Linked DNA regions of Homo sapiens: regions 1 and 2 are each linked to region 3. Evidence: promoter capture Hi-C in 16 types of primary human blood cells and fetal thymus (Javierre and others, 2016). All regions are on one chromosome and are shown on one strand. The core of a region is centred on a gene start or on the middle of the fragment in contact, and the rest is flanking DNA. Distances in the headings are between cores, read along the strand shown. Region 1 overlaps TRIM33 (tripartite motif containing 33). Region 2 has its middle 160 kb from the start of TRIM33. Region 3 holds the start of DENND2C (DENN domain containing 2C).

The links. The method cuts DNA at HindIII sites, captures the fragments that hold promoters and counts their contacts. A CHiCAGO score of 5 or more calls a contact.
Region 1: a fragment that was not itself captured here is called in contact with the fragment with the promoter of DENND2C in region 3 in 1 of 17 cell types (naive B cells); the score reaches 5.3 in naive B cells.
Region 2: a fragment that was not itself captured here is called in contact with the fragment with the promoter of DENND2C in region 3 in 7 of 17 cell types (total B cells, megakaryocytes, naive B cells and 4 more); the score reaches 9.0 in total B cells.

The regions. Positions count from the first base shown.
Region 1 is chr1:114,404,544-114,407,717 of GRCh38, reverse strand. It overlaps TRIM33 (tripartite motif containing 33), which reads left to right. Exons shown (of 20, transcript NM_015906.4): 14 at 618-777; 15 at 1,959-2,308. Among named protein-coding and RNA genes, the nearest start is that of TRIM33, 110 kb to the left of the region's middle. The HindIII fragment of the contact is 2,497 bases long and covers 132-2,628 here.
Region 2 is chr1:114,350,058-114,353,070 of GRCh38, reverse strand. No RefSeq gene overlaps it. Among named protein-coding and RNA genes, the nearest start is that of TRIM33, 160 kb to the left of the region's middle. RefSeq lists enhancers at 1-70, 71-571 and a silencer at 1-204. The HindIII fragment of the contact is 218 bases long and covers 1,572-1,789 here.
Region 3 is chr1:114,668,533-114,671,378 of GRCh38, reverse strand. DENND2C (DENN domain containing 2C) reads left to right here and starts at 1,330. Exons shown (of 21, transcript NM_001256404.2): 1 at 1,330-1,396. LOC124904354 (a long non-coding RNA gene) reads right to left here and starts at 968. Exons shown (of 2, transcript XR_007066465.1): 1 at 729-968; 2 at 425-530. RefSeq lists an enhancer at 957-1,116 and a silencer at 1,237-1,326. The HindIII fragment of the contact is 6,814 bases long and covers 1-2,846 here.

The DNA of each region.
Region 1 (3,174 bases), core at 131-2,630, 260 kb after region 3:
TCCATTATATATGTTACGTCTGTATGTATGTATATTGAACACTGAACATTATTCCATCTTTGTCCTGTCAAAGCTTTCTCAGGCTTGCTCCTTAGTCCTTTTGCTATAATCACAGCAGTCTTTTTTAAGCTTCCATGTTTCCTGTGAAACAGCATTTCGGGTTCATTTTGTACATTTCATGCTTCAGACCTGGAATCAGCCACTTTCCCAGGAAGTTCTGGTAGTGTTAGCAGGAAAGCAGGAAAATAGTGTTTGAGGATAATATTCTAGTACTAATAGCACTCATTGCTACTGAATTGTTCATTGTTTCTTAGGCCTTTTCAGTGGACAGAGCTAAGAAATAGGAGTGTGTGTGTGTGCGTGTGTGTGTGTGAAGAAAGTGCTTCAAACCATAAAATGTGTTTTTAGGGTCTTCTGAAAGTTGCTGCATAATTTTAAAGAGTTTTAAGCTAGGCTTTATACCACATTCCCCTTAACTACATTATGAGGTATCCTTATCTTCTGTAAAGTTAATTGTCTATTGTCTTCACTTTAGTGAACATTACTTTTCATATAATTGTTTTTATTTATACCATATAGTCAAACGTATGTGATCTTTATTTGTTGTTTCTTATTAGCTGTGGGTCATCAGGAAGAACTGCTGAGAAGACAAGTCTTAGTTTCAAATCTGATCAGGTGAAGGTCAAGCAAGAACCTGGGACTGAAGATGAAATATGTAGCTTTTCAGGAGGTGTAAAACAAGAAAAAACAGAGGATGGCAGGAGGAGTGCTTGCATGGTAAGCTCCCACTGGAGTCTGACAGGGACTTAAGGACATCACTTCATTGATTCTTTCAGCTCTGAGTATATTAAGACTAAGTAGTGGGTCTAGAAACATTTATTTTTGAAATTTCATGCCTGGCACAAGCCAGATATCTCTTTTTCTAACTCAACTTTTTTGTCTAAGAGTCAGCTGTAATTAATCAGAAAAGACTTAATTGTATTAAGTACTCATTTGAAATTATCTTTGAATTTGTATTTAGTCAATATTCTTCCCATGATGCTAAATCAGATTGTATCTTGTCCTGAAATTATTATTTCAGTAGTCACATTGAATCTCAGGCCACAAAAGATCTTTGGGATTCTCCTGGACCTGTGAGCTCAGCATTAAGATTGCTGACATGAAAGAAATTTATTGATCAGAGTTTTGTGATAGGAAGTTTGTCTTTTGGCTTACGTATTACTAATCATTCTGGAGTTCCTTGAGTGGAACATTTATAAAATTTCTAATACAGAATGAAGGAAGGCCAAGCCCCTCTTGGTTTAAATATTTTGATTTTTGTTTTCTCTTTCTGACCGGGCTTCTTTTTCCTTTTTTATATGGTTGGCACATGGGAATTCATCTCAAGGTATTGGTATATTTAACACAGTATATATAGATTCAGAGAGCAAGAGATTCAGCCTTGGTTTTGGAGTATTGTTACGTCTTCATCCAGAACTTGGTTTAGAAAGTACCCCCATAAAAAAAATGGGTGCCAAGGTTGGTGAACAATTTCTTTTATGTTGTTGCAGCCTTCCTACAATATAGTAGAATGATAGGTGAGCAGAAGAATATTATAGAATGCTTCTAAAATGCTATGCAAAAGATTCTGGGTGTGAAAAGGGGTGTGCCATAATTAGCTCTCTCAAGGAAAAGTATAACCCTATGCTCACTTCCCAATCAATAGCTTAACAGTTTAATTAATTTACTTATTATTTGAGTGAGACATTATCAGAGGAGCAGACCCCTTAAAATCATATGTTAGCGTGCCTGAATAATTTTGGGGTTATTGTCATTTCTTTATGGCACTATTGTGATCTATAAAATAAATTTGTTACGTCAGTATATCTATATGCATATTCACATAACTGTTAAATACACATATGGCATACAATAAAGATTAAATGATTCTTCAAGAATTTGTCATCGTTTTGTTTTAGTTGAGCAGTCCTGAGAGTAGCTTGACACCACCTCTCTCAACCAACCTGCATCTAGAAAGTGAATTGGATGCATTGGCAAGCCTGGAAAACCATGTGAAAATTGAACCTGCAGATATGAATGAAAGCTGCAAACAGTCAGGGCTCAGCAGCCTTGTTAATGGAAAGTCCCCAATTCGAAGCCTCATGCACAGGTCGGCAAGGATTGGAGGAGATGGCAACAATAAAGATGATGACCCAAATGAAGACTGGTGTGCTGTCTGCCAAAACGGAGGAGATCTCTTGTGCTGCGAAAAATGTCCAAAGGTCTTTCATCTAACTTGTCATGTTCCAACACTACTTAGCTTTCCAAGGTACCAGTGAAATAATTGATTTTTGGTGTTGATTTTCATAAGCTAAAAATAAATAACAGAAGAATGTTCAGGGCAGATGGCCTTCTAACCAGTGCATAGTATTTCTATAAAACAGGGAGCCTGTTATTCTTTTGGTATTAGCTTCCAGAGAAACTAACAATAAAATATCTAAGATCTAAGTAGTACATTAATGTTAAAGAGTAGATTTCATCTCCTGGCCTTTAGTTTATATTCAGTATAAGGAAAATAGATAAAACTCTAAATTAATAGGGGGCTAAGGTTACAAAACCTGCAGTCTGGTTCTAATTCTGTAGTAAGCTTGAGCAATTCACTAATTATCAGGGATCAGTTTTTGCATCTACAAGTGGTAGGTTTTGGTTTAGCAGAGCTGTAGTTCTTCCCTTCCATTTATTATTTTATGTTCATGCAACCTCTTGTCTCTTGATTTCAGAGACCATAAAATAGTAGAGTCATACTTGTTTTTTTCAGTCTTCTCCTTCCTCTCTTGTCCCCCAATTTCTTTTTGGTGAAAGTAAGTCAGTATTCTTGGGGTAAACCCAGCTTTTTTCTTGCTATAAATTGAAAAAAAAAAAAAAAAAAGATATATCTTCTCAAATTCCTGAGAAGCAGTAACTTTAATTGAATAATAGTGCCCTCTTTGAAAGTGTTAACCTTTTGGATTAGAAAACTAGTAGATATTTAAACAGTGCCAGAATATTTTTCTGAAGAATTGTAATTTCTTACCTAAGTCTTTGGAGATAGAGTTATTTGCTAGAGATGTAATAAGGGCCTTCTTTTTCTTTACTCTTATTTAGAAAAGAAAAGCATTGGCACTTTGATCTTGAAATTAAGAATTTTCTTTTCTT
Region 2 (3,013 bases), core at 431-2,930, 320 kb after region 3:
AGCTGCCTCTTGAGAAATGCTGAGCTGCCTGCCAGCCCGTGCAGCCTGTCAGCTCCCATCTGCCAGCCCCATCTGCTCTTCCCCAGCCACACTGCTGTTCGCTGCTGCTGCTGGGCCCTCTCCTATCATCTCTGGCTCGGCCTCTACTTGCTGCCTCTCAGCTTCTCCCCAGGGAGCTGGTTGCCCTGACTTCCTTTGCACCTATTCTCCTCCTCCTGCCAGTTTCGGCTCAATTACCCTCCCCACACCGACTCATTCCTCCTGCAAGGGGTCTGAGGCTCCACTATCGAGCAGTCAAAAGGAAAAAAACATGGAGCCTTGCCTTTCCACCACACACACCACCTCCAACTCAGGCAGGCAGTCTCCCTGCTGAGGTTGAGGAGGGCAAGGCCTGAGGGTCTTACAGCAAGACAGGTCTCCTTAGGTGGGCAGCAAGCTCCTAGGCTGGGAACGGACAGAATCTTACTGCTCAATGGAATCTCAGATATCAAGTCTAGAGGCAGATGGGGAACAGCAACCCTGGAGGAGAGGCATATTGACCGGGGTGACACTGTTGGCTCCCTACAGAGCAGAGACTGGAACACAGGTTTCCTGACTTCATCCAGCCAATATTTACTGAGCATCATCTGTGTGCCAGGCAATTGATTAGATCCACACCTACCTCAAGAAGCTCATGGTCTCGTTTGCACTCCCAGCACAGGGCTCTTCCCAGTCACAGCTGCTGATATAGGATAAGTTTTAAGGCATTGCTATAAGCAAAAATGATTGCCATCTTCCTAACTTCATGCATGGCAAGGGCTTAAATGTCCTCACATCTTTATCCAACAAATTGGTCTCACTTTTCCCAGCCCCAGGTTTACAACAGCAGGGTTCACACAACCATCCTTTTTGCTTGTGGGGTGAGATTGTCCTAGGGGTGCTGGAGAATAACCTGGGTTTTACGCAGTGGTGATCAGGAGACCCCAGAGGCTTTGTCTCTGCAGCCTGCCTGCCTCCGACATGTTAACAGCAATCAGTATGATTTTGACCAATTTTTCTGACTTCACAGTTCCCGGGAAGCCCTTTTCTACATCAGACAGTTCCCTGTGAGCAACACCAGCTTTCCCAATGCCCTAAAACTATGTCCCCCACTTCTGTGACTTGATGTGTGGGAGACCACCATTAGTGTCTTTCCACAAGGTCATGTATTGTCATATTGATTCATTGAATCCAAAGACCTCTAGAAAAGTAACAATAGCCAACATTTATGAAATGCTCATTTTGTTCTAGGCCCTGTTTTAAGCACTTTTGGTGTAACAATTGTTTTAGTCTTCCTTGATGATTATGAAGTGTGCTACCATTATTAGTCTCATTTTAGAAATGAAGAAACTGAGGTTTAGAGGAGTTAAATAATTGCTCAAGATCCCAGTTGCTGGGAAGTGGTAGACCTCAGATTTAAACGCAGCTAACCTGACTTCAAGTCTATGCACTTCACTGCTATACCTCCCTGCGTTTGGTGCATGAAGTCACTATGACCTTGGTACCAATTCATTCCTCTGGGGCATTCCTCCATGGCAACTATAGAACAAGCTTTCGGGTGGGATGTCTACAATAATTGTGTAGGTGGGGAGGTGGTGATCCATCTTGTCCATCAGTTCCCATTGCCTCTGGGCCTGGCCTGACATGAGTTGGGACAGCGTCCACCACATCAGGAATGTGGCACTTGCCAGGGCCCAGGAGCCAGTGGCTGAGGTGTGGGGTGGGTGGATGCCTGGGAGCTCGGAGATGCTGGAGCACGTAGGCTCAAGCTTGCAGTGCTGGCCTGTCTTCTACTGCTTTGCTCTGGACATGTAAGAAAACTGCGTCCCCAGCCTGGCCAGTCAACAAGCCAAGAGAGTGGCATAGGTGGGTGGCAGTGGATGGAGGGTGCTGAGCACAAAGGCCAGCACAACCTCAGTACCCTCCACTCTCACATGGTCCGACTCCTTTTAGCCCCAAGGAAGGGAGAAGAGAACATGCTGTTTGGAGGAGGCCGGGAAGAGCCCTGGAGGCACCGACTGGCCTCAGGATACTCCCATGCTCCTGGGGCCCTGGAGCAGTGCCTCCTCTACCTACCAAAGTTCTTTGGAGCAAGGCAGGGGATGGGCAGGCATCTGAAATTGAGCACCAAATGACAGGGGTGGGCAAGGGGGCTGGGCGGTGAAGGGCGCTGCAGGGAGGACTCTGGTGGAGCAAGGGCCACTGACAATGTCTCCTCACCATCAGCACGGAGATCCCTGCCCAGGATCTGCAGCCCTGTCCCCATTGGTCTGCACTCAGGGGAGGCTCAGATGTTAACATCTCTGGTTCTTTTAGAGACTAGGACAGGACAAAAGAGGAAAGGACGCATTTGCCTGTGGATGGAAGAGGCTAGCCAACAAGAAGGGCACTGTCTCTAAGTGGTGGGTTAGGAGAGGGTTGACAGCTCCTGCACGTGGCCACCAAGTCAAGTCTCTTTCCCAGCCTCCCTTACCTGAGCAAGTCCTGCGAATGACAAATGAGCTGAAATCATACACCTTAGTTCCCAGAATGTTATATTCTTGCACTTAAGAGGACTGAGTGTGTGTTCCCATGTCTTTCCTGGCCTGCTGGCTAGGCATTGGCAAGGACTGTACTAGCCATTTGCAGCTGCAAACGGAAGCCATGCCTGAGGATGGCAGAGCCACACACCAGCCCTGGACCACTTGCCTACCTCCGGACTGTCACCTGGAGAGAAACTTCTTTCTTGTTTAAGCAGTTTATCCTTTGCCGGAGGACACGTGCTTCCACGTGGAAAGGCAGAGTGGAGCAAGGAGTGGTGGGTGGGCATTGCAGGATGCTTCCATCCTGACCAAGTAGACTGAATGAGGGACTTTACCCAGCTCTGGAGCTGGAGCTCCCATTTTCATGTGGAATTCATTCAGCAGGACACCGGCTATGTCCGCAGCCCCTTCAGGAGAGTGGCCTGAAGGACAGCCTTCTTCCTAGTATCACTGATGAGACCTGGGCTGGGGGA
Region 3 (2,846 bases), core at 81-2,580:
GGAGACCAGCCTGGGCAACATAGCGAGACCCTGTCTCTACAAAAAAATAAAAATAAAAATATTAGCCGGGGGTGGTGGTGCATGCTTATAATACTAGCTGCTTGGGAGGCCGAGGTGGGACGATTCTTTGAGCCTAGGAAGTTGAGACTTCAAGTGAGCTATGATTGGGCCACCGCACTCCAGTGTGAGTGACACAAAGAGACCCTGTCTCAATAAATAAATAGATAGACACATTATATAAGAATTTTTTTTTTTTTGGTGGGGGAAGCCCATAATGATCAGTGTGCAAAATTTACTACAAACAATATCCACATTTATTTCCTCATTGGGACATGATTTTTTTTAAGTATGTCATTACTTTTTTTTCCCCCATCATAGAATGTAATTTCTGTTTTACTGTCTACAGGTGATAGTTTCACAACGGTTTGGGATATGCTACCTTTATTGTTTGGGTTAAGTTTGCTTGTGACAGTCATCCGTGATACGTAACTAAACACCTCTCTTTCTGGTAGTCTTCTATTTTGGTACCTCTGTGTGAACAAATGTAGGAAGAGTTTGGTCACCAGACCCAAGAGGCTCTGGCTGGGTGGGGTGGGGTGGGGTGGGGCGGGGCGAGGCGGGGTGGGGTGGTTAGCGAGTGCCTGGGAAACAGGCTCAACTGATCCTTGTCCCGCAGCCTCGGTGAAACTGGGTTACAGCTTGCAGTAGGCACAACACCACGCACATACCTAAGCAAGAGCGTGTTGCAGGCGGAGCGCTTAGGCATGTGTGTCTCAACAGGGCGTGGGGGCTGACCTCACGCACTGGGAGTATCAAGGCACCCCCGTTCTGAGATTCCAAGCCTGAGGTGCCGCGAGAGTTATTTGCTTCTCTTGACGTTTCAAGTTGGCACCGTAGTGCAATTGTTTGCTCACTGAGGTCAGCCTAGGAAACAGTGCTTGGATTCCCTGATTAAGCCAGGCTTTATCTTGTTGAGTAGTTGTGAAGAGTAAACCTTCACATGAAGCATAGGGCCGTCTCCGTGGGGCCGATGCGACGGCAGGCGAAGGCGATGGAGCTCTGGCTCGAGGGCTTGGCCGGACGACGGTGACACTGGTCGCCCGCCTGCTGGAACTGCAGTGACCGAGGTCCTGGCAAGGTTCTGGCCATACAGCGGACTTGAGGCGTGGTGGTTCCCCTCACCGCCGGCCGGGGCGGTGTCGGAGGCGGGCATAGCGTGAGGGGTGGGAATAGGAGCCAATAAGAACTGAGCCTTGCCAGGGAGGGCGGGGCTAGGGGGTGGGGCTGCAGCCGGGACGGGGCCTTCGGCAGGGCCTGCGGGGGCGGGACGGAGCGGACCCGAGTGATACCCGGGAGACTAGCTTGGCCACAGGAGACAACGTTGAGGTACAGACAGGTAAGAGTCGGGGTGATTCGGCGCGGGGTTTTAAGCCGCAGGGGCTTCGGACTCTCGGGGCTGTCGGCATCACCCTTCTGGGCGTCGGGTGCGGGGCTGTGGCGCCGCGGCGTAGTCCTCGGACGGTGCGAGCCGAGCTGGCGGAGGTGGTGTCTCCGCGCCCCGCTGTCTCGGCACCTCCTCCGTCCGGAGGAGCAACCGGTTGTTGGGCCCAGCTTTGGGACGTCCTCTCGTGGCCGCACGGGTTGTGGCGGAGCCTGGCTGAAGACCTCCTCGCTACCTCAGGGGCTTGGGGACCCCTAGGCTGGGCGCCGCTCTCTGCTGGGGAAGAGGGAGGGAGCGCCCGGCAGCCTGGGGAAACGCGGGCTTTCTCCAAAATTAGCCAGTGAGCTTGAACTTCGACATGCTGGGACGATGCACTTCCAAACAATATTTTGCTTTTTTTGGTGTTTTGATTCTTAACAGCATCTAATACGCACAATACCGAAAGTTGTCAAGTAGAATTTTAATTTAAAAGTCTGACAGTGGAACACCTAAGAGCTTTTGAGTAACTAGAGCTGTATAGCAGCTGATGATTAGATTATGAGTCAAAAGGCTCAAGTCTAGGGCCAGAACCCGCGGAACCAGATGTGATACCTCGGCCAAATTAACTTCCTGGGCCTCTCTTTCCGTAACTGTGAAACTGGCAAGTTCATGCCTATGGGTATTCTCAGGGTCAAATCAGATGAGTGACAGTATTCTACAAATGTCAGATATTTGAACGTGCGTGTGGAGCGTGTATATTCTGTGAAGCAACTACTACTTGCCTGGTACATAGTAGGCACTTTACAAACGTTTACCCTAAAGCTAGTGATTCTTCTGCAGTGTTTTAGATAAAGTGATAGATCCTTGCTTACTGTGTAAATAAGTTGTTTAAACTTTTCCCACAAAGTGACCCCCATTGTTTGAGTGTGTCCTATTTTTAAATGATTGATGAAATTTTCTAGAATAGCACAGTGGTGTTATCTATACACTGTTGCTGAATCATTTACCGCGAAGTCTGTAGCAATCAAATAATCTACTTCTTTGTCTTAGCTAAATAGTTGTAGTTTAAGATACCTGCTAAAGTAAGCTGGGAATATTGTTCCAAATCAAGACTTTAATTTGTTTTTGTGAATTGACGGGCTGCTTATAGGAAGATTTAAATCTTCCAAAATATTGTTAATATATAGCCATATTTTTTCATACAGCCTTTATTATAGACGTTTTTGTTCTTTACTATGGATATGTGTGCGAGGGATTTTAGCGGGGAGATGGGAAATAAAAAAGAAAATGGCAGTTTTGTAACCTGTAGGCTTTTGCTGGGGATACTTGTAGGCCTGTTCTGAGTTTGCCAGGCAGAAACCAGGAAATGTAGTAATTATGTGTCTTGGTCTTTCATTAGTTGGGGTGTGTGTGTGTGTGTGTGTGT